4 separate regions of the Homo sapiens genome follow, and regions 1, 2 and 3 are each linked to region 4. The links are contacts of gene promoters, found by promoter capture Hi-C in blood cells and fetal thymus (Javierre and others, 2016). All regions are on one chromosome and are shown on one strand. Each heading gives the region's core, a stretch centred on a gene start or on the middle of the fragment in contact. The rest is flanking DNA. Distances are from core to core; before and after follow the strand shown.

The links. The method cuts DNA at HindIII sites, captures the fragments that hold promoters and counts their contacts. A CHiCAGO score of 5 or more calls a contact.
Region 1: a contact is called between a fragment that was not itself captured here and the fragment with the promoter of PLRG1 in region 4, in 2 of 17 cell types (total B cells and naive B cells). The highest score is 7.9, in total B cells.
Region 2: a fragment that was not itself captured here is called in contact with the fragment with the promoter of PLRG1 in region 4 in 2 of 17 cell types (monocytes and total B cells); the score reaches 6.3 in monocytes.
Region 3: a contact is called between a fragment that was not itself captured here and the fragment with the promoter of PLRG1 in region 4, in 3 of 17 cell types (naive B cells, monocytes and total B cells). The highest score is 8.2, in naive B cells.

What each region holds. Positions count from the first base shown.
Region 1 is chr4:155,802,277-155,807,082 of GRCh38, reverse strand. GUCY1B1 (guanylate cyclase 1 soluble subunit beta 1) reads right to left here. Exons shown (of 14, transcript NM_000857.5): 10 at 4,504-4,741; 11 at 3,319-3,459; 12 at 2,336-2,490; 13 at 1,854-1,980; 14 at 1-697. The coding sequence ends at 674. Among named protein-coding and RNA genes, the nearest start is that of GUCY1B1, 46 kb to the right of the region's middle. The HindIII fragment of the contact is 671 bases long and covers 1,441-2,111 here.
Region 2 is chr4:155,761,535-155,766,457 of GRCh38, reverse strand. The region is part of intron 2 of GUCY1B1 (guanylate cyclase 1 soluble subunit beta 1); the gene reads right to left. Among named protein-coding and RNA genes, the nearest start is that of GUCY1B1, 5.0 kb to the right of the region's middle. The HindIII fragment of the contact is 2,108 bases long and covers 1,720-3,827 here.
Region 3 is chr4:155,783,611-155,788,310 of GRCh38, reverse strand. All of the region lies in intron 4 of GUCY1B1 (guanylate cyclase 1 soluble subunit beta 1), which reads right to left. Among named protein-coding and RNA genes, the nearest start is that of GUCY1B1, 27 kb to the right of the region's middle. The HindIII fragment of the contact is 5,993 bases long and covers 1-4,700 here.
Region 4 is chr4:154,547,695-154,552,590 of GRCh38, reverse strand. It overlaps PLRG1 (pleiotropic regulator 1), which reads left to right and starts at 2,191. Exons shown (of 15, transcript NM_002669.4): 1 at 2,191-2,291; 2 at 3,656-3,762; 3 at 4,738-4,880. The coding sequence starts at 2,283. RefSeq lists enhancers at 180-474, 1,858-2,017, 2,038-2,087. The HindIII fragment of the contact is 1,608 bases long and covers 1,948-3,555 here.

The DNA of each region.
Region 1 (4,806 bases), core at 527-3,026, 1.3 Mb before region 4:
ATTGCCATATGATTTGAATTAGTAATCAAATACTTTAATAACAGAAACGTGTATTCTATATTTCTGAAAGGGAAGTAGCATACTTCAAAATAGTCACTATTTTCTTAGCATGATATGTTAATTCTTACTTTGGGAGTCTGAAAATAAATTGCATTTTTTCCCCTAAAACTTAGAATTCACTCCTTTAGAAAATGATTTCTATAATGATATACACCAACATGATATAAACTTTATTACATTATAGTCATTAAAATATACATATACATATATGTGGAACACTAAACAGATTTGGTAAACATGATATAAATATACACATGGCCAAACACTGTTCAGTTTCATTTAACTAAATTCAACAAATATTTATTGGGTGCCTACTACTTGCAGATCACCATGTTAGGTAATGCTTGTAGTAGATTTTAAGACACATGAAGCTCACATCATCCACATCAAAAGCCAAACTTTAGATAATATACTAAAGCCTAAAAAGTAATAGAAAGCAGAGCTAAGGTTGAATAACGGATAGTGAGAGATATATCTAGAAGAAAGTCTTGGGGTAATGGACAAGGACAAAAGAAAATCTGTATCCATAGGGAAGAACTGCTCCTGGGCTTGGCACGTGTTAGGAGAAAACTGGAACCTAGTCTGTACTCCTCTTCACCCCATAATCCAAGATTCAGTCATCATCCTGCTTTGTTTCCTTAAATAGGCAGAAGAAAAGAGGGATTGATTTACAGTGATAGTGAGGTTTATAATATCAATTAAATATATTTTTCTCTTTATGAGAGTGTGATCCACGTTCACATCTACAGTTTCTGTAAATCATTCCCACCATAATTCTGGGAAAAACAGGACCGCACGACTAAGATGACCAATGTTTGAGGTAATTACGGCTTAGTTTATCAGAAGAACATCAATAAGCATGTCCACCTCATAGGAAAATGATTTAATGTTAAACCAGGTGAAAGAAGATAAATATTTCAAACCCTGGCATTCTATTCCCTTTAGAAGTTGTTATGCCCTAAAAGCATCTTTAGAGAGTTTATACACACTAAAAGAGAAATATGAGCATGCAGTCTTATCCCCCATGAGGAAACAACACATCAACAGGGTAACAAAGTATCAAACTTGCTTCTGATGCCACTCCTTACAAAAGGCTAGGAAGAGGCTAGCCATGATCTTAGTGTGTGCAAGGCCTCTATGAGAGGTGTGATTCCACTTTGGATGTGCCACTGTTCTGAAGTCCATTCTAGCACATGGGCTCTGCCTGGAGTATAACCATAGTAGTAGAAAGAACTTAAATCTTCCCTAAGGAATTAATCAGATTCTAGCAAGTTAAAAATCACTCATCTATCTAGGAGAAACACATGAGGGACTAGGATTTCCAAAATTCCCCAATCACTCCATAGAAAGATAGCCTGCCCCTTAAAAGGATCTTAAGCTTCATGGTTAAGAAACCTCCCATGAACCACAGCCCTTATCTGTGGTGATCTCAGAGCCAACTTAGAGAGCTGAGGAAAGGGGTCAGGGGAGCCCCTCACAGCCCACTTACCTTTGAGCCAGACTACAGAGGAAGAGCAAAACAACCACAACAGCAAGAAAAAAAGCAGCCTTCTCAATCCAGTCTGTTGGTTTTCATTTCATTAGAGGACAAAAATCACTAAAGTATCCCCTAAAAAGTACTTATGATTGTAATTGGCTCATTAATGTTCAATTATTTCCACTGCTTTACTTAGAAGTTAATTTCTGTTAGCAAGAATTCTTTTCAAATGAAATACATTTTCAGTGATTTTGCTTTAGTTTTCCATACTTATACTCTGTCTTAAGTACGCAAATTACACTTTGATTAGTCATACCTCTGTTCCTGTATTTTTTCTGGATAGAAACCAAACTTGCATTGGTTCTTTTTTGCCCTTCATGGACACTGGGCCTCTGTGCTCCAAGTGGAATTGTGGATCTGAATTTTCTGGAGACATAAGACATCTAAAAGACAAGGGAAGGGGAGTAGAGAGAGAAGTATACACAAGTTTTATAGAGAAGGTGACATGTATCATGTTATAAACCAAGATGGCAAGAACAAATGCTGAAGTTGTACTGAAAGGTAACTCAAAGCTTTAGAAACAATGATCATATCAGGATTTCCTAAGATGATGTGAAATCATATAAAATGGAAATAATGACACAATCTTCTCAAATAAAAAGTAAACAACTCTACAAGCAGTGGGGAAGAGTGAAGGTGATAACTCTGTTAAAGCAACAAAATCTCTCAGAGAATTAAACCACATGCAAAGACACATTTTCTTTGCAAATCAGTAAATACCAAGACATTTTCTCTCACCTGTATGTATATTCAGACACATTTATTTTTCCCTTTTCTCCTGTGGTTTCTGTTCGGCTTGTGAGGTTGACAGTATTCCCAAAAAGACAGTATCGAGGCATCCGCTGTCCTATGACACCTGTAACTACCTCTCCAGTGTGTATCCCTATTGTTATCTGCAAAAAAGAAAGCTTTGCTTCAATCATTTTGATCACTAACACATGAATTTTTTTTTTTTTATTTTACTTTAAGTTCTGGCATACAGGTGCAGAAGGTGCAGGTTTGTTACATAGGTATATATGTGCCATGGTGGTTTGCTGCACCTATCAACCCATTATCTAGGTTTTAAGCCCCGCACGTATTAGGTATTTGTCCTAATGCTCTCCCTCCCCTTGCCCCCAAACTCCCAACAGGTCCCGGTGTGTGATGTTCCCCTCCTTGTGTCCATGTGTTCTCATTGTTCAGCTCCAACTTATGAGTGAGAACATGTGGTGTTTGGTTTTCTGTTCCTGTAACACATGAATTTTTGCTTACTTTATATTACAGAATAATGTAGAGTCATCATATAACATCGTAAGAGATGTCTATAAGAATTTCAAGCATATTATGGACAACTTCAAAAGCCCTCCATGAAATCTCTATCTCCCCAGGGAAATATCCTATCTCAAGAGAAACATTTGAAGTCTGAAGATTTCAAAGATGTGAATCTAGTAACTTACATGAGACATGAAAGAGGTTTTAAAAAATAAACTAGAAGGTACAAGAGGTTTTTTTCTCATCCCCATGACTTTCAGTACATGAAACGGACTAGATAATTTCAAACAGGTAGATAAATCTCCATGTCTATGAAAGAATGTAGTACAGTGGGCTGGATGAAATGCTATAGTCTTTGTTGTCAAGATGCCCTTCTTTATACACGTTAATGATTTTCCGGACAACGATATGAATCAATTGTCCAAAAAGGTTTACATACCATTATTACAATATCTACTTCATTTACTAACCTGAACAGATTCACCATCTACTTGAACCTGGCCAGCAATTTCCATCATGTCCAAGGCCAGGTGGCAGATGGATCGTGCATGGTGAATGCATGGCTCTGGTAAACCACTCACTGTCATATACTTGTCACCAACAGTCTCCACCTAACAGTACATATATTTAGATGTTCACGGTTAGCATAAAAAAGACTGTTTCATTTATTACCCTAACAAAAAACATATTTTTTCAAGTCTACCAGCAACTTTAAGCTTCCCTCCCCCTTTAATTCTCTTAAAATTCTAATATATTCAACTCCAACAAAATGAAACCTTGCAATTACTTATAATTTACACACATGATGGACACTTGGGGTCTTTGATGACGGGCAGGTACAGACATAGAATTATTTTTCCTTTAGTAAGCAATTAATTTCTCACCTCAGATAACTTTATAATTCAGAAGAATAATTTTTTACATTTCTACCTAAAACAGTGATGGCTTGACGGCATGGAGAGCCACCATTTCAAGTTCAGTGATTTATCACGGTCATTAATCATTTGTTTGTATGATGTGCTCACCACATGCTAGAGTGTACCTCAGAAAATGACTATAAAATAAATAGTCCTTGTGTAGTTATATTACCCCAGATATCTAGAGATGGTTTACTTAACATTCTTGCCTTTATGTAGCAATATTCCACTGACTTCTTTTTTCCAATATTATATTTATTTCTAAATGAAACAAAGGGCAAAAACGCCTTATAAATGTTTATCTTCTTCAAGTTGATGTTATCTAAACGCAAATCTGAGTCCTTCTCATGCTTCATGACTTCTTTACTGTACAAAGCATTTATATATCTCAGTAAAAATGTCTCTTGCAGAGGACTAAAATGAATGCTATGTTTATACTACATGTGATAAACAGCCTGTCCAGATTTGTTAGCCTAAGTGCAAATAAGATGGTGAACATTTCATTTTAACCAGGGAATCACCCACTTCATGAAACATTCATTGTGGTTACAAGGAAGAGACAGTTTTATAACAAGAGGCAATTATTTAAGAACATGGTAAAGAGTGAATACATGGAGGCTCACTGTACTCAAGGCTGCAGTGCTGGAGTCAGAGAGCTGTGATGACATGGCCTCTGGAGGGGAGTCTCAGAACGCCAGCCTCTGGATAGCTCTGCAGTCAGCGATAAAGAACACTTGCCTTATAAACAAATGGGTTTTTCCGGGAATCAGTCAGTGTGTCAAATCTGGTGTAGAGGTCGTTGAGGAGGTTGACGATCTTCATGGCTCCTTCTCCAGATGCATGCTTGCTACAGAAAGCATTGAAGCCCACAATGCCACTAAAGAGGATGGTCACATTGTCATATCTTTTGGCAGGCACTGGACGCTTGTGCCGCAGCTCATTGGCAACAGACGGAGGAAGGACAGAATACAGCAATCTGTTCAGTGGGATCAGCAGAAAGCCACTGTAAGAAATACTGGGAAAGCCTTTAGTGCTTCTGCT
Region 2 (4,923 bases), core at 1,524-4,023, 1.2 Mb before region 4:
TCTTAAGTGTTCTCACTACAAAAAAAGAGGGTGCCTATGTGAGGTGATGAATATGGCAATTGGCTTGATTACAGTGATTATTTCACAATGTATATGTACATCAAAACATGAAGTTGTGCACCTTAAATATATATAACTTTTATTTGTCAATTATATCTCAATAAATCTTGGAGAAAAAGAAATGTCTATTTGAAAACAGCTTATATTTAAATAGTAGTTGAATATGTCACCATGCTGACATAAATTCTGGTTGCAGAGAAGAATCTTTGATAAAAATATGTGTGTGCTCTATTCTTTGGAAATGAAAAAGGTGAAAGATACTTCATTCACATATAAACATCCATATTTTTATTACAGAAAGAGAGCCTGATATTTTATTGAATACATAGAGAGAGGGAGAGAGAGAGCACTCTAGAAAGAGTTATGGAGGCTATTGTCATGGAGGATAGACATTAATCAGTAGTACAAATACTAAGTACAAACTCTTGCATTACAGCACTATGAAGGAAAGGGAAAAGTTTGGATGTGAGAGAAGGTTCCCTTAAGAAGTGACATTTGCTTTGACATCTCAAAGCTGAGAGGTGTTTACATTTACAGGAGGGTTGGGAGGGTGAAGAAAAGGAGACCATAGCAAGCACAGGTGTTAAACGGACACATTTAAGGCTCGGTATGGCTGAGAAACTAAAAACAGGCCCATGGGGCTGGAATGCTAAGGGTATGTAGGACAAGTTGAGTGAAAGGTTTCCATGTTTGGGTTATCTGAAGATTGACCACAAAGAATTTCAATAAATTTAACAATTTCATATTTCATGATTCAACAATGAAGGGGAAGTAGACCAGAATATGCAACAGAACCAAAGCCACAGTAACGAGGAGGTCCAATAAATACTTCAGAATGTCTACTTTTACCTGGAATAAAATCCACTTTAACTTCACTATCTTTTGATATAGTTTGACACAGAAAAAGATGCTTCATTTTGCTAGACATAAACAATAAAGACATTTTTTCTCCCACCATTTCCTCTTTAACGAACAAGGAGGCAAAGGAGAGAATGAAAAAGCTGCAAGTACTCACGTCTGCTGAGCTGTCACCCTCGGATCTAGCCAGTTAGATTTCTTTATAGCATTCATTTCCTTAAGTGTGTTTTCCTATTGATGTCTGCAGAGCATCAACCCATAACTATAGTTTTCCAACACATTAAAGAGAAACATTTGCTAGAGCCCCTTATTCTGGAGAAAGGCAAGAAAGTAGAAAGGACTTTGTTCTTGCAAATCATAACAATGCTTAGTAAATGTTTGCCAAAACTAGATCTGGGTACATTAAGAGTGAGAATACAGATTTTCTGATTTCTGATGCTCACCGTAATGTGCAAAGATCCTTCCGACACGCCAAATTAAGTGATGTACTCCTCTGATTTTTTTTTTAATTCTCAAAAATCACAGAATGCAAGGAAAATAAAGACTCCAAGACCCAGCTTGATTTCTGGGGGATACCTCAGATCATCAGAACCAAAATAAAACTCAAAAGAAACACCCACAAACTCCCTGAGATCATGTGATGACCCGCCTTATCACCTAGGTGCCTGCCATGCTGCTCACAGACATGGTCCAGGTTCTGGAAGAGCCCTATGCAAAGAGCTCAATAGCAGGTATGTGATGGAGTATACACTTGGGCATCCAGTTCCAGCTGCAAAAGATAACTTCAAACATTAGTAAGCTTAACAGCCAACACACAATACAATGCAACGCCTTCCTCTGTATTTCAGGCTAACTGGCAGATCTTTCTACAGAAAAGGATCCTGATCCTAACAATGATCTGGTTTACTTGTTTCCTTAGTCTGTATATTAATGTGTTTATTTGTACTGAGGAAGTTTCTGGGTAAGAAAATAAATGTGGTTTCATTTTTGTATGTATACTACATTAGTTCCTATTTCACAGTTATATCTTAAAAGAAGCATTAAACCTGGCAACAGAAGAACAAGGGCTGAAGTTCTGACTTTTCAGTTTCCTATATGTAATTCTCTGGGACAGTAAGTAATTACATATGGGAATTAACCTCTTGGAAAACCAACTTTGTTATTAAAAAAATTGAGCTGTAAAGTCCTTTCCTATTTCAAATGGATGTTGTAGCAGTCAACCAAAATTATAGAGAGAACAAAACTTTGGAAATTTGAAATTGCTTTATAATATAAAGTATCCTTACTACTTTAAAACATACATAGGCTCATTACTACTTAAGCAGATCTACAGAAAGGTATAGAAGTTTAAATCACACCTTCAAAAATATGAAAATCTGAATAAACACGGCAAAACATGGTGATGTGCTCTTTTGTTTGTTTTAATTTGCTTTGATACAATGGATATTAAGAGCATTTGTTGCATTTCAAAACAAAATGATGAAAAATGATGATGATGATGATTACTTATCCTAGAGTGATAAAAAAAATTTAGACTGATAGAATATAGACTGCAATAATATTTTTTAAAGGAGGGCTTAATATCTTTCAAGTAAATTGGGGAACGGAAAGTTTAAAAACTCTGATTCTAGAGTAAAATAAAAAAAAATCATCATTTATTAAGCTATTGTCAAGAACTATGTTAAGCATTTTGCAGACATTATTCAATGCATTACATCAGCTCTGTGAAGTATTATTTTTTCCTCTATGCAATGGAGGATTGGAAAGTTTAGGCAACTTGGAAAGTCCCATAACTAGTTTATAGCAAAGTGTTTCCTTATTTGAACCATAATGATTAATTTGTGATTAGCAAATTTAACAAGACACATTAATTTCAAAACTGGAAGTATATGCTATCCAACAGACAAAAGGTTACCGTATTTGAGTTATAGGCAGGAAAATAAAAACAAAATAATAAGACTAAAATATCATGAAATCTCTAGAATTTTTTTTTTGAAGGTAAGGATTACATCATTGCTTTTCTATCCTCAGTGCCTAAAACACTTGACTATACTCATTAAAGATAAACGTTTTATCTGATTTATTTAAGTCAGGACAGTGTACTTTCTTTACAGACTTTTAATCATTTGGGATTTTTCAGTGTTTTGGATCTATCTTCCTAATTTGTATGTTTCAGTGAGGTTAAAAAATCTAAAGTTGGGCTGGGTGTGGTGGTGCATATAATCCAATACTTTGGGAGGCCGAGTCAAGAGGATCACTTGATGACAGGAGTTTGAGACCAGCTTGGGCACACAGCAAGACCTGTCTCTAACTGCTTCCCTCCGCTGCTACCCAGAAAAAATATGGAAAGAAAGCAGAGAAAAAATCTAAAATTAAACCCAGTAATTTGACGCAATGATGAGTTTAGTCAGGGCTGATGGAAGGATAACAGAGATGGGAAATCAAGTATTTAGGTGCTTTTCTAGGATGTATCACTCCTAACTTTATTTATTTTCTACCCTGATAATTTTTTTGTCATTACTTAGAAATCATAGCCTCTTAAAAGGACTATTTGAATATTGAAATGAAATCAACAAAAAAAACTTTGAAATGGATTCAGAGGTCTCTTTTGCTTTTTCACATTTGTTATGGTCTAAATCAGAGGTCATCAAACTATAGCCCATGGATCACATGTAGCCCACTTTGTCTGGTTTGGTTGTTTGTTTGCGTTTTCCTGGTCCAAGAGCTAACAATGGTTTTAATATTTTTAAGTGGTTATATTTTTAATAGTTATATTGATTCCTACATAATATCCTCAGTTTTACCTTGGCCTGTAACACCTAAAACATTTACTATCTGGCCCTTTAAGAGAAAGTTTGCTGGCCCTTGGTCTAGACAATTTTTCTTCTTCTTAAGAGGAATTCAAAGCTTTTGTGAAATGGTTATATTGTTGGTAAGAGTGTAAGTGGATACTGAGTTTACAATGAAGCATTTTTGGCCCTTATCCACTTAGAATTTTCTGTCTGCTGTCTGGAATCTGTTACTTAGGGTTTTATTTGTCATTAAATGTTTGGCATCTTTTCCCATCCTTTCTCATGAAGGATGGATGGCCATTTCCTAGTGAAGCAAAAAAGTATAATGTAAATTTGTATAAACATCAATTTAGATAGTTTCTCAAAGACCAAAAGAAAAAATAAGAGTTTGGTACTTACTGAGACAAAAAAAAATGTTTTTCCTCTTATATTCAATTTCTTATAAAAGTTAAAACTGAAAGCATCTTGGACCAATGACTGCTTTAATATTCCCTGAAGCAGAGGGTAGGGAGGGGAGGAGGAACCAGAATCACCCAAGGAGCATTTTTCAATTACACTCCTCCAGGTTCTCCTCCCCTCTCCCCAGGCAGCAAGATTCTTTTCTGTGGAAAGCAAATGCTCTCCCAGGGAGCATTTAGTAATTACTCAGGGGTATTGGGTTGGAAACCAAGGAGCAGCTTTAATGCCCTCAGTGCAGAGAGTTCAACCATGTTCTCTAGCCCAGACACTAAACCACACCCAAGATCAGCTGGGGTCCACCAAAAGATGCTTAGACAAATAAAGAATCAACACTAACACCTGGATTACCAACACCAGTGTGACTAACACTTTTTCCCTTGCAGGGGCATAACCTTGAGGCAATTTTATTTAAGAAAAGACCAATATAACTTGTTTCATTTTTACCAGAAAAATTGTGTTGTGGATGATTGGAATTTTTATCCTTTAGACAAATTATGAATACTGTTGGAAGCTACTTAAAGATAAATTAGTAAGTTAATAAATAATTTTTTAAAGTAGAATGGAACAATATTCTCAGCTTGATTTTGCAGAGTTAAATTCTCGTCAATTGAATCTTTACATATTTGGACTTCCTCTGGGAAAATATAAGCAATATAAACAAATCTCTGGATAATTTTAACTTTTTAAAATGTCTGATACATTACTCTATAAAGTATTATTTTTCATCTCTGTATTTAACAGTGATCTAAACTGA
Region 3 (4,700 bases), core at 1,605-4,104, 1.2 Mb before region 4:
GCAGCTGCCTGCTGACAGTCAAGGAAACTGGGTCCTCAGCCCTATAACTGCATGGAACTGAATTCTGTCAATACTTGAATGAGGAAGAAAACAATTATCCCCAAAAGCCAACATAAAGAAACACAGTCCCGTCCCACCAGCACAGCACGCTGAATATAGTCCAGTAAGACCTGCAATGGACTTCCAACTTATGAAACCATAGGGTAATAAATTTGTGTTAAGCACTTAAGTTTGTGGTCATTTGTTATGGTAGCAATAAAAAACAAATACACCAAGCAAGTAGTAATCTATTCACAACTGGTGATTATTTTTAAAGAGAAGAAAAGAAAAACAACAAAACAGTTTCAAAATGTCATGGGCATAAAAGAACATACCTAAAATGAAAGTACTGGAGATATGCCAAAATTAAACTATGGCTTTCATTCCAAATGTCTCAAAGAGGTCAATTTAGAAAAACAGAAAAATCCAGTGAGATTACTGGGAGGAAACTACGGTGAGAATGAGATGATTCCGCGGGTGTCCACATTTGAGCAATACTCTAACAGGACACTTACAGCATTAATTTTCTGTCCCTTCCACACATCCACTCAATCATGCATTCACTCTATAATGTTATTGTATGTGCATTATATATCATACACTGTGTCATGTGGGCTTGGGTGCAGGGTAGATGTTTGGATGCAGATCTGCATGATGAGGATTAAGCAGCTCATGGTTTATATCACAAATGGATGTGTAGAGTGGCTTTTGATGAGCAAATGAGGAAGCCAACAATTCAGACTGAAAGAATGGAGTTAAAAATACTTCAAACTGAAGATGTGATTTGAGCTAGGTCATGAAGTTTGACAATCTAATCCAGATAAATGATTCAATGACCTCCTCAACTCGATAAATCTGGTGACTTTTTGAACCGTCTGCATCTACTGTTTCCTTCCCCACAATTATACCTGATGGAGTCAAGCTAATTCTTAGCAAAAACATCAGTTCATCCGGATTGCCTCTAGAGGCTGCTATTGCCATGTAAAAGTAATCCAATATGGCAGCCACTAAGTATTGAAGAGGTATATATAACCTACAAACCCCGGAGTCCTAAAACTGTTTTACTTGGTTGAATAGTATGAGAGGTTCTTCCAATGATGAATCATTCTCATTAGGACTCTTCCCTTAGAAGGGACGACCTGAGAACTGCTTCATAGCCCTCTCAGACCCCTTATACTTCTACTTATGTTGTGAAACATTTTGTGAAAGAAAATCGGGTGAGAAAAAAAAAATCACTGAGAGAGTTTTATTTTTATCTGCATTTCTCACAAAGTCAAAATTGAGCTTGTGGCTGCATTTAGAAAATGTTTCTAATAGAGTCAGGCCCAGGTACTGTGTTGTTGGCTCACTTAAAAAAGAAATTGAGGCCAGGCGTGCTCTCACACCTGTAATCCCAGCACTTTGGGAGGCGGAGGCAGGCAGATTACTTGAGGTCAGGAGTTCGAGAACCAGCCTGGCCAACATGGTGAAACCCCACATCTACTGAAAATACAAAAATTGGCCAGGCGCGGTGCCTCACACCTGTAATCCCAGCACTTTGGGAGGCCAAGGCGGGCGGATCACAAGGTCAGGAGATCAAGACCATCCTGGCTAACACGGTGAAACCCCGTCTCTACTAAGAGAAAAAAAAAGAAATTAGCAGGGTGTGGCGGTGGGTGCCTGTAATCCCAGCCACTCAGGAGGCTGAGGCAGGAGAATGGCATGAACCCGGGAGGTGGAGCTTGCAGTGAGCCGAAATCTCGCCACTGCACTCCAGCCTGGGCGACAGAGTGAGACTCCATCTCAAAAAAAAAAAAAAAAAAAAAAAAAAGAAAGAAAGAAAATACAAAAATTAGCCAGGCGTGGTGGGGCATGCCTGTAGTCCCAGCTACTTGGGAGGCTGAGGCATGAGAATCGCTTGAACCCAGGAGGTGGAGGTTGCAGTGAGCCCAGATCTCACCACTGCACTCCAGCCTGGGCGACACAGTGAGATTCTGCCTCAAAAAAAAAAAAAAAAAAAAGGAAATTGAACCAAACAATAACTTCAAAAAGGCATTTTAATATTTTTTCTATACAGAATGCTTACATATTTCATAAATCAATGTACCAATGTGCTTATATCATTTTCATACTCATCTTTTTTACTGGATTATTAAAACATTTCTACTTTCACTCAAGCAGATGGCATAAGGCAATAACGACTTGCACCACTTATGTCACTGGCACCACTTATGCTGGGGCAAGTCAGAGAGTGGACACAATCATCCAAGTCAGTACTTCCTGAGTCACTAAAGATAGGCACTGCACCCTCACCAAAGGATACCAAAAACACCAAATGAGAATGTTCACCTTTTCTGTCTTTTTGCAGTAACCAACTCTCCAGAGATTTACTGTGTTATTGAATTTACTATTAGTTAATTGAACAAGTAAAGTGCTCTCCTGAATCATAAAAGATTGAACACCACTTAATGTAATATTGATTTTCTTTAGATAGTATCTAATATAAAAAATACTCTTGGGATTTCTTGAGTTACAACCTTCCTTACTTGGCTTTACTCTTTCAAAATTTAAAGTAATTACCACAGCCAGACTATTACAAGAAATGAGATTAATGATTAAAAGTTATTTTCATTTAAGTACACTTATATTGCTAATAAATGTGTCATCCTCATATACAGGCTACAATTTTTTTTTTTTGCTACAAAAAGATTCTTACAATGGCCAAGAGAAAACCCTTTCTACATTTGATAATGCTATCTAAACAAAGATGATAGTTCATCCACATTGCTCTAACAATGTATTCTGGGGAATAAGAGTTTCATATCAAAACTGATATTCTGTGTTATTTCTAAATATACCCACAGAAGCACTTACAGAAAGTAAAGAGCTGTGTGGCCAATTGCAAAGAAGTATGTCCATATGTATGAAAGTAAAAAAGACACTGAAAAAATGTAAACTCTTACATTGCAGCACAAGTAGATTCCCAGGAAACAATGATGTAAATCTGAAATATGCTTTGATTCATTCTTCTAGGCTTCATAAAATCAAAAAACAGGAAAAATATAGAGAGTAGGTCCATTCATCTATTTTGATATCTTGAGATACCTAAAGGTTTTAATTTAATAATTTCATTTCTTAATGTTCTAATATCATTTTATTGTTTTTCTACAAGCAAATGAATGTGGTTTTTCTACTCAGGAATTCTGCTCCCTGTCAGTCTAGTTTATTTTATCACCTTGCATTTATCATTTATAAAAGAAAAATTAGTTCTGGTATTCTGGGGTACTCTACTGGAATTTCAGACATAGTACACTTCACAGATTTAGAAAACAAAAGACAATTTATCATTCCTTTGAGTAATAAAGTGTCACATTTTTAAAGATCTTGGGATGTTTCAAAATAAATGCACATTTTCTTTTTGTAATATGCATGCCAAAAATAAGTTCTTACATAATTACAGGGGCAAAGTCCCCAGAAGTCAACTACCTGATTTTCCTGTTTCAAGGACATCTAATTAAATTTTTTAAAGGATCCACAGAAATGGGTAAGACCTTGCCTTGAACGTTTTAAAGAAAAACATTTTCAGTATCCAAGAATCCTTGTTTTAGTGGATGGGGAGAAGGGAGTTGTCTGTGTTGAGAATATTACTGCAGTTTAGATCTGCAAGAAATCTTTAAAACCAGTCATTGCAAACCTCTTTTTGTTTTTCAATGAAGGAGGATGAGGTATAGTATTTCCTTTCTTTCTATCCCTCACACCTCTGAAAAATAGGACCAACACCAACATTCTTTAATGAGAGTCATGTAATTTAAAAAATATTTTGTTAAGTTTTATAAGAAAAAAGTCATTTTGGAATTTGAAGATAAAACATTTAAACAAAGTCGACCTAAGTAAAATGGAACATCAAACCCTAGATGATGAGAAACACCAAAGTAAATAGCATGAGATTGGAGTAGGAAGTGAATGCTTTCATAATACTTTTCCTGCCTTTTCTTCCTGGAGCTGCTTCTTGAGAATTAAATAGCTTTTCAACTGAAAAGATATAGAGATTCTTTTCTAAAAGAAACATTGAAAATCTCTATTTAAAAAGAAACTGTACCAGAGTCACTAAAATTATTTAAATGGAAATAGCGTTAAAGCTATATCAATTTATCATTACCATCCTCTCCAAGGAAATATTTTAATTAAAGAAAAACAGTTAAAATATTTCTCTTATTCTATTGCTTTTAAACTCATGTTAAAAAAGATCCAGTCTATATAATACTACATGTAACAATTAATCAATATTTTGAAAAATTATGAAAATATATACCAGTTATTCAAACTGAAAAGCCTTACAATTCTGGAATACTTCTTATCTTCCTTCATAAGTTTTTAAAAAATAAAACTATTTTTATTATTGGATTATAGAAATTGGCGTTGTGGATGCTGAGAAAACAGCTCTTTTTTAAAATTCCAAAGTTAAAAATAAAGTGAATGGTGCTCTTTTTTCTTAAGAAATATAAATAATTTAGGGAAGTATTAGAATTTTACAGCTGTTCAGGAAAATCCTCATATTTCCTAAAATAACCCTTTGCACAAACATTTAAGAATTAGATCAGTCATCAATCTCAGATTGTTCCTGGTGGCCAAATCACAATGTTGTATTTAATAAGTCAAAACCTGGAGCCAACAGGAATTGA
Region 4 (4,896 bases), core at 942-3,441:
AGAATCAGAAAACACTTCCTATAAAAATATCATAAAAAGCTGATGAAAATGGCACTCAAATCTATACTCATATGACCTATCACTGTTCAAGAGCAAAGGACAATATTTGAAGGAGAATAAAAAGAGTTTCTGTATTGGTGAGTTTAAAAAATCTTGCCTAAAGAAGGAGGGCTTTCCTTAAAACTTGTATTCTTGGTTTTACACAGACATAATACTAATAATTTATATTAATAAGTTACTTGCCGTGTCTGCTTTAAGGACAGCCCTGAGGGCCCGTACAAAGAGCAGTGGTGACACCTGCTGTTCAAATAAGGCAGCTTCGGGTGTCAGCCAGGCCATGTGTGTATGACGGAGCCTTTCAGGAATCCAATTAAACTTGTGGATCCTTTCTCCAGAAAATAAAACATATTCCCATATAAATACAAAATTTTCCTACAATATACATAATTCATGAATCCCTGAACTAAATAATAGGGTCACTTGAGTTCTATATTTATCTAAAATATTGTAAACTTTCAAGGGGATGACATCATTCTATAAATTCACGACAGTGTTTTAAAAGGAGCAAATTCGAGGCAATTTACCTCAATCATTACCATGTTGTTATTGAGAAATTAAATTAATGTCTCCAGGATGATTAAATATGTAAAAAGTTAATAGATCCAACTAGACAATTAATATATTGCCATATATATTAGTCTTGCTTAGGTTTCTATGGTTTTATTGTCATTTCAAATCATGTTATTTTCTATAGTTATTATTAATAGGTGAGTATATTATTTAGTTCATCAAGTATATATTTTACAATTATGGTATTTTCTTGCAAGGAAATACCATCACCTGCCACCTTTACAGAAAAGCAATTCTTAGGCCAAACTCACAGTTAAATTCAGAGATGCTGTATCTTCAAGTAAAAACATGACCTTAAGGCAGGGCTCAGTGGCTCATGCCTGTAATCCTAGCACTTTGGGAGGCCGAGGCGGGCGGATCACCTGAGGTCAGGAGTTCAAGACCAGCCTGGCCAACATGGTGAAACGCTGTCTCTACTAAAAATACAAAAATTAGCCGGGCATGGTGGCGGGCGCCTGTAATCCCAGCTACTCCAGAGGCTGAGGCAGGAGAATAGCTTGAACCTGGGATGCTGAGGTTGCAGTGAGCCAAGATCGCGCCATGGCACTCCAGCCTGGGCGACAAGAGCGAAACTCTGTCTCAAACAAAAACCCATGACCTTAATGTTTTTAATGAATTTCCAAGTAAGGTTGATTTATATTGCTATTCTTTTGCTAGATTTTTTCCCCCTCTCAAAGTGTAAGCAGTATGCTCTCAGGACAGGATTAGTGAAACTGAAACAGGGCCAGTAAAATGTTTGTCTATTTAAGTTTGTAAATGCCTAAGTCCATCCATTTTTTTTTTTACATAGAAAAATAATTGGGTAGGGTTGATCACAAACCACAGATTTTACCAGGGTAGAAAGCAAAAATACCAATACTTGGCACAAGGATATGTATAAATAAAAATGGCTAAAGTCTCCAATTGTGTCTTCTACCAGCTTTGAAAAGCTGTACCCTGGCATTGTTGAAGCCACAATAATCAGCAGGCAACTAGGAAATGGACAAGAGCTATGCAGTTTTGAGAAATTAAAAAAAAAAATCTATTAGCAGAAAATAAATATGGGGTTTTGTTATAACTACATGTCAAAATTTTCCAAATTAAAACAGCTATTCCTCAACGTTCACTTAACAAGTGTTTACTGGACTGTTTAAGCGAAATTGTTTTCAGGTGTTAAGCCTACAAGTGTCCAAGTGCTTCTCGCCAGGATTAGAACCAGGAGACACAAAGCACGCAGGCGACCTCCAAAGAGATCAAGGTAGTGGAAATGCCTTAGATAGAGCCCACGGGAGTTTGCTCTCCAGACGCTTAGGTTCTCTGAATAAAAAGCGTTAAGCTTCCGGGGAATACAGCACGAACAACCAGGACCCCAACTAAGGCAGAAAACATAATTCTAAGATTTCTTCAGAGGGACGAGTGAAACCCTCCACCCAGGCCCTTCCAGGAGTCTCCGGCTTTCAGCCTCGAGACTCCGCCCTAGAGGCGGTCCCGAGGAGGGAGACCCGCCTCCTGATCCTAGATGGCCGAGGGAGACTAGCGCGCGTGCGCAGAGCTTGCATCACATCCGCCGCCTGGGCGCCCAATTCCGGAAGGTGCTGCACAGCTGTGGCGGCGGGTACTGCGTTAGTGATTAGAGTTTCTTCCCTGCCGGAGGTGGGATACACGGTAGCATCATGGTCGAGGTAAAGTGACACTGGGGCTCTCAAGAGTCGTTTGTCTCTGGACTGTTTTTTTTGGCAGTGCGCGTGGGGGATTGAGAGTACTTGGAGTCCAGAGAGAAAAGAGGCTACGAGGGGAGCTATTTGGCCAAGGCCGAGTGGTCTCTTCTTCGGGTTTTCGGGGAAGGGGTAGAAGCCGGATGAGAACCCGAGTCGGAGGTTCAGCCTGGGCGCGAAGCCTGAGATAATTCGTCCAGTCCTCGTTTGACTCTTGGGAGCTGGAAAGTGTCCTCGGAGGCGGGGCCTCTGTTGGTGATCGACCACTGGTACTTGCCGCCCTCGGGGCAGTGTCAGTGAGTCTGTGCCCTAAAAGATTGGTAGTCTTCTCTATCTTGCGTTCAGGTCGTCTCTTATTTCACCTCTACCCCCAGAAAAACTTGCCGTTCTTTACATCTTTCCCTGGCATGAACAGCCAACGCTGTTAGCTGGTCTTGTCCATCTTACCCCACATGTTTATTGATTCCATTCACTCTTCTCCATATCCGCTGCAGTCCACCTTAATTGAGACCAACATCATCTTTCACCTGGACTGGTGCATTAGCTCCCCGTTGGTTGGTTTCCTTGCTTCCATTTTGTTCTATAAGTTGTTCTGTTTAAAACGTAAGTTGTTCATACCTTTCTTGTTTAAAACCCTTTACTGACCCTATGTTGCTAGAACAAAATATAGGCTGTTGTAATAGTCTAAAAGACCTTACCTAATCTGGACCTTGTCTACCCTTGCAGCTACAAAGCACCATCTCATCCTCCATACACAGCTGTACTGCGCTCCTTGTATTATTTCAGTTAACTGAACTTTTTTTTACATGACATTTCCATCAGCCTGGTTCGTTCTTACCTCTGTTTTGTGCAAGGCTAACTCCCTTTCTGCTTAAATATCACCTTAGTGAAATCTTTCACAATTATACTTAGTCCTTCATTCCCTGACTCAGCGCCTTGCTTGTTGCCTTCATAGCACTTATCAAAATGTGGAATTATTTTACTTTTTATTTGTCTGTTTCCTCTTGAGCACAGGGACCATGACCACCTTTTTATCATTCTATTGTGAGATTCTAGCACAATACCTGCCAGACACACAGTAGGAGCTCAGTAAATATTTATTGAGTAAGTTAAACTCCGGCATCACTCAGTTGCTAAACCTGAGGTTCTAGCCAAAGAGGAGCTTCCTCCTCTTCTCTGAACTTGACTCCTGTAGCTTGCAACAAGTAGCTATGGTGAGTGGTATAAAGCTTTTTACATATTTAAACACGTGAAGTGTATAATCAATCTGACTTTAGGTTATGATTTGTGTAATTTGTAGATAGGTGTGTAATTACATTCTTTTTTTTTAGGAGGTACAGAAACATTCTGTACACACCCTTGTGTTCAGGTCGTTGAAGAGGACCCATGACATGTTTGTAGCTGATAATGGAAAACCTGTGCCTTTAGATGAAGAGAGGTTGGTGTAGTTTTTTTTTTTCAATTGCTAAAATACTTAACATTCTAATACTAGGGGAAGAGAGCAGGGAGAGGGAGTCCTTTAAAGATAAGCTAGTCATGGGCTAATTATTCAATAATGAGTGGTGTTTTGGCATAATTTAAGCTGATTTAACTTTTTTTTTTGGCCTTTTACAGTAAAAGTTCCATTAATTAATTGCATTTTACAAATACCCAGTAATTAAGAGAGTCCCTTTTAGGTATTTTATTTTATAATCAATCACTTTGTATGTGCTTTCAGCTTCCCGCTGCTCTCAGAGCCTTGCTGAGCTGAAATTGTACCTGGCTAGTACCTCTACTCCCATCTTTTCTCGTTAGTATGATGAAGATTTTTGAGTGGTGGCATATTTTTGGTTCTACATATCCAGCTCCAGTCTGGGAATGCATTATGTGCAGTGTTCCTTCTTTGTCCTTTACCTTTTTAAAATCTACTTAACTCCTCAAACAAGCATTTATATTTAATTTATAAAGTAGACTATTTTTAAAAGTAATATAAATGCATTTCTTTTTAAGATATTGAACCAATTAAGTACTTTGATTAGTTCTAACTAACCTGTTTGGATACATCTAGTAAAGGTTGCTATAGAGTTTTTACTATATTTATATTTTGAAGGAAAGTATATTGACTTTGAGGTTTCTTAAAGGGTATGTTAGTTTCTGTATATCTTTCAGTCAGACCCTTGACAATTTATCATAAAAGGTTTTCTATTTATTAGGTAACAAACTAAAATATTACGTAGGTTTAATGAATGCTGTGTGGTCGAATGTAAGCAAAAGAACAGATATGGTGGGGAAATGCCCTTGGAAATTTTTGATTCTTTTAAATACTACTTAAAATCATACTAGAAACTTTTTCTACGTGAATGGGCAAACTTAAGCTAAGTGTTTGTTTTAAAGTATTTATGGATACGTTCTTATGTTTATAATTTCTAAATAGTCACAAACGAAAAATGGCAATCAAGCTTCGTAATGAGTATGGTCCTGTGTTGCATATGCCTACTTCAAAAGAAAATCTTAAAGAGAAGGGTCCTCAGAATGCAACGGATTCATATGTTCATAAACAGTACCCTGCCAATCAAGGTGAGTATGGTATTAT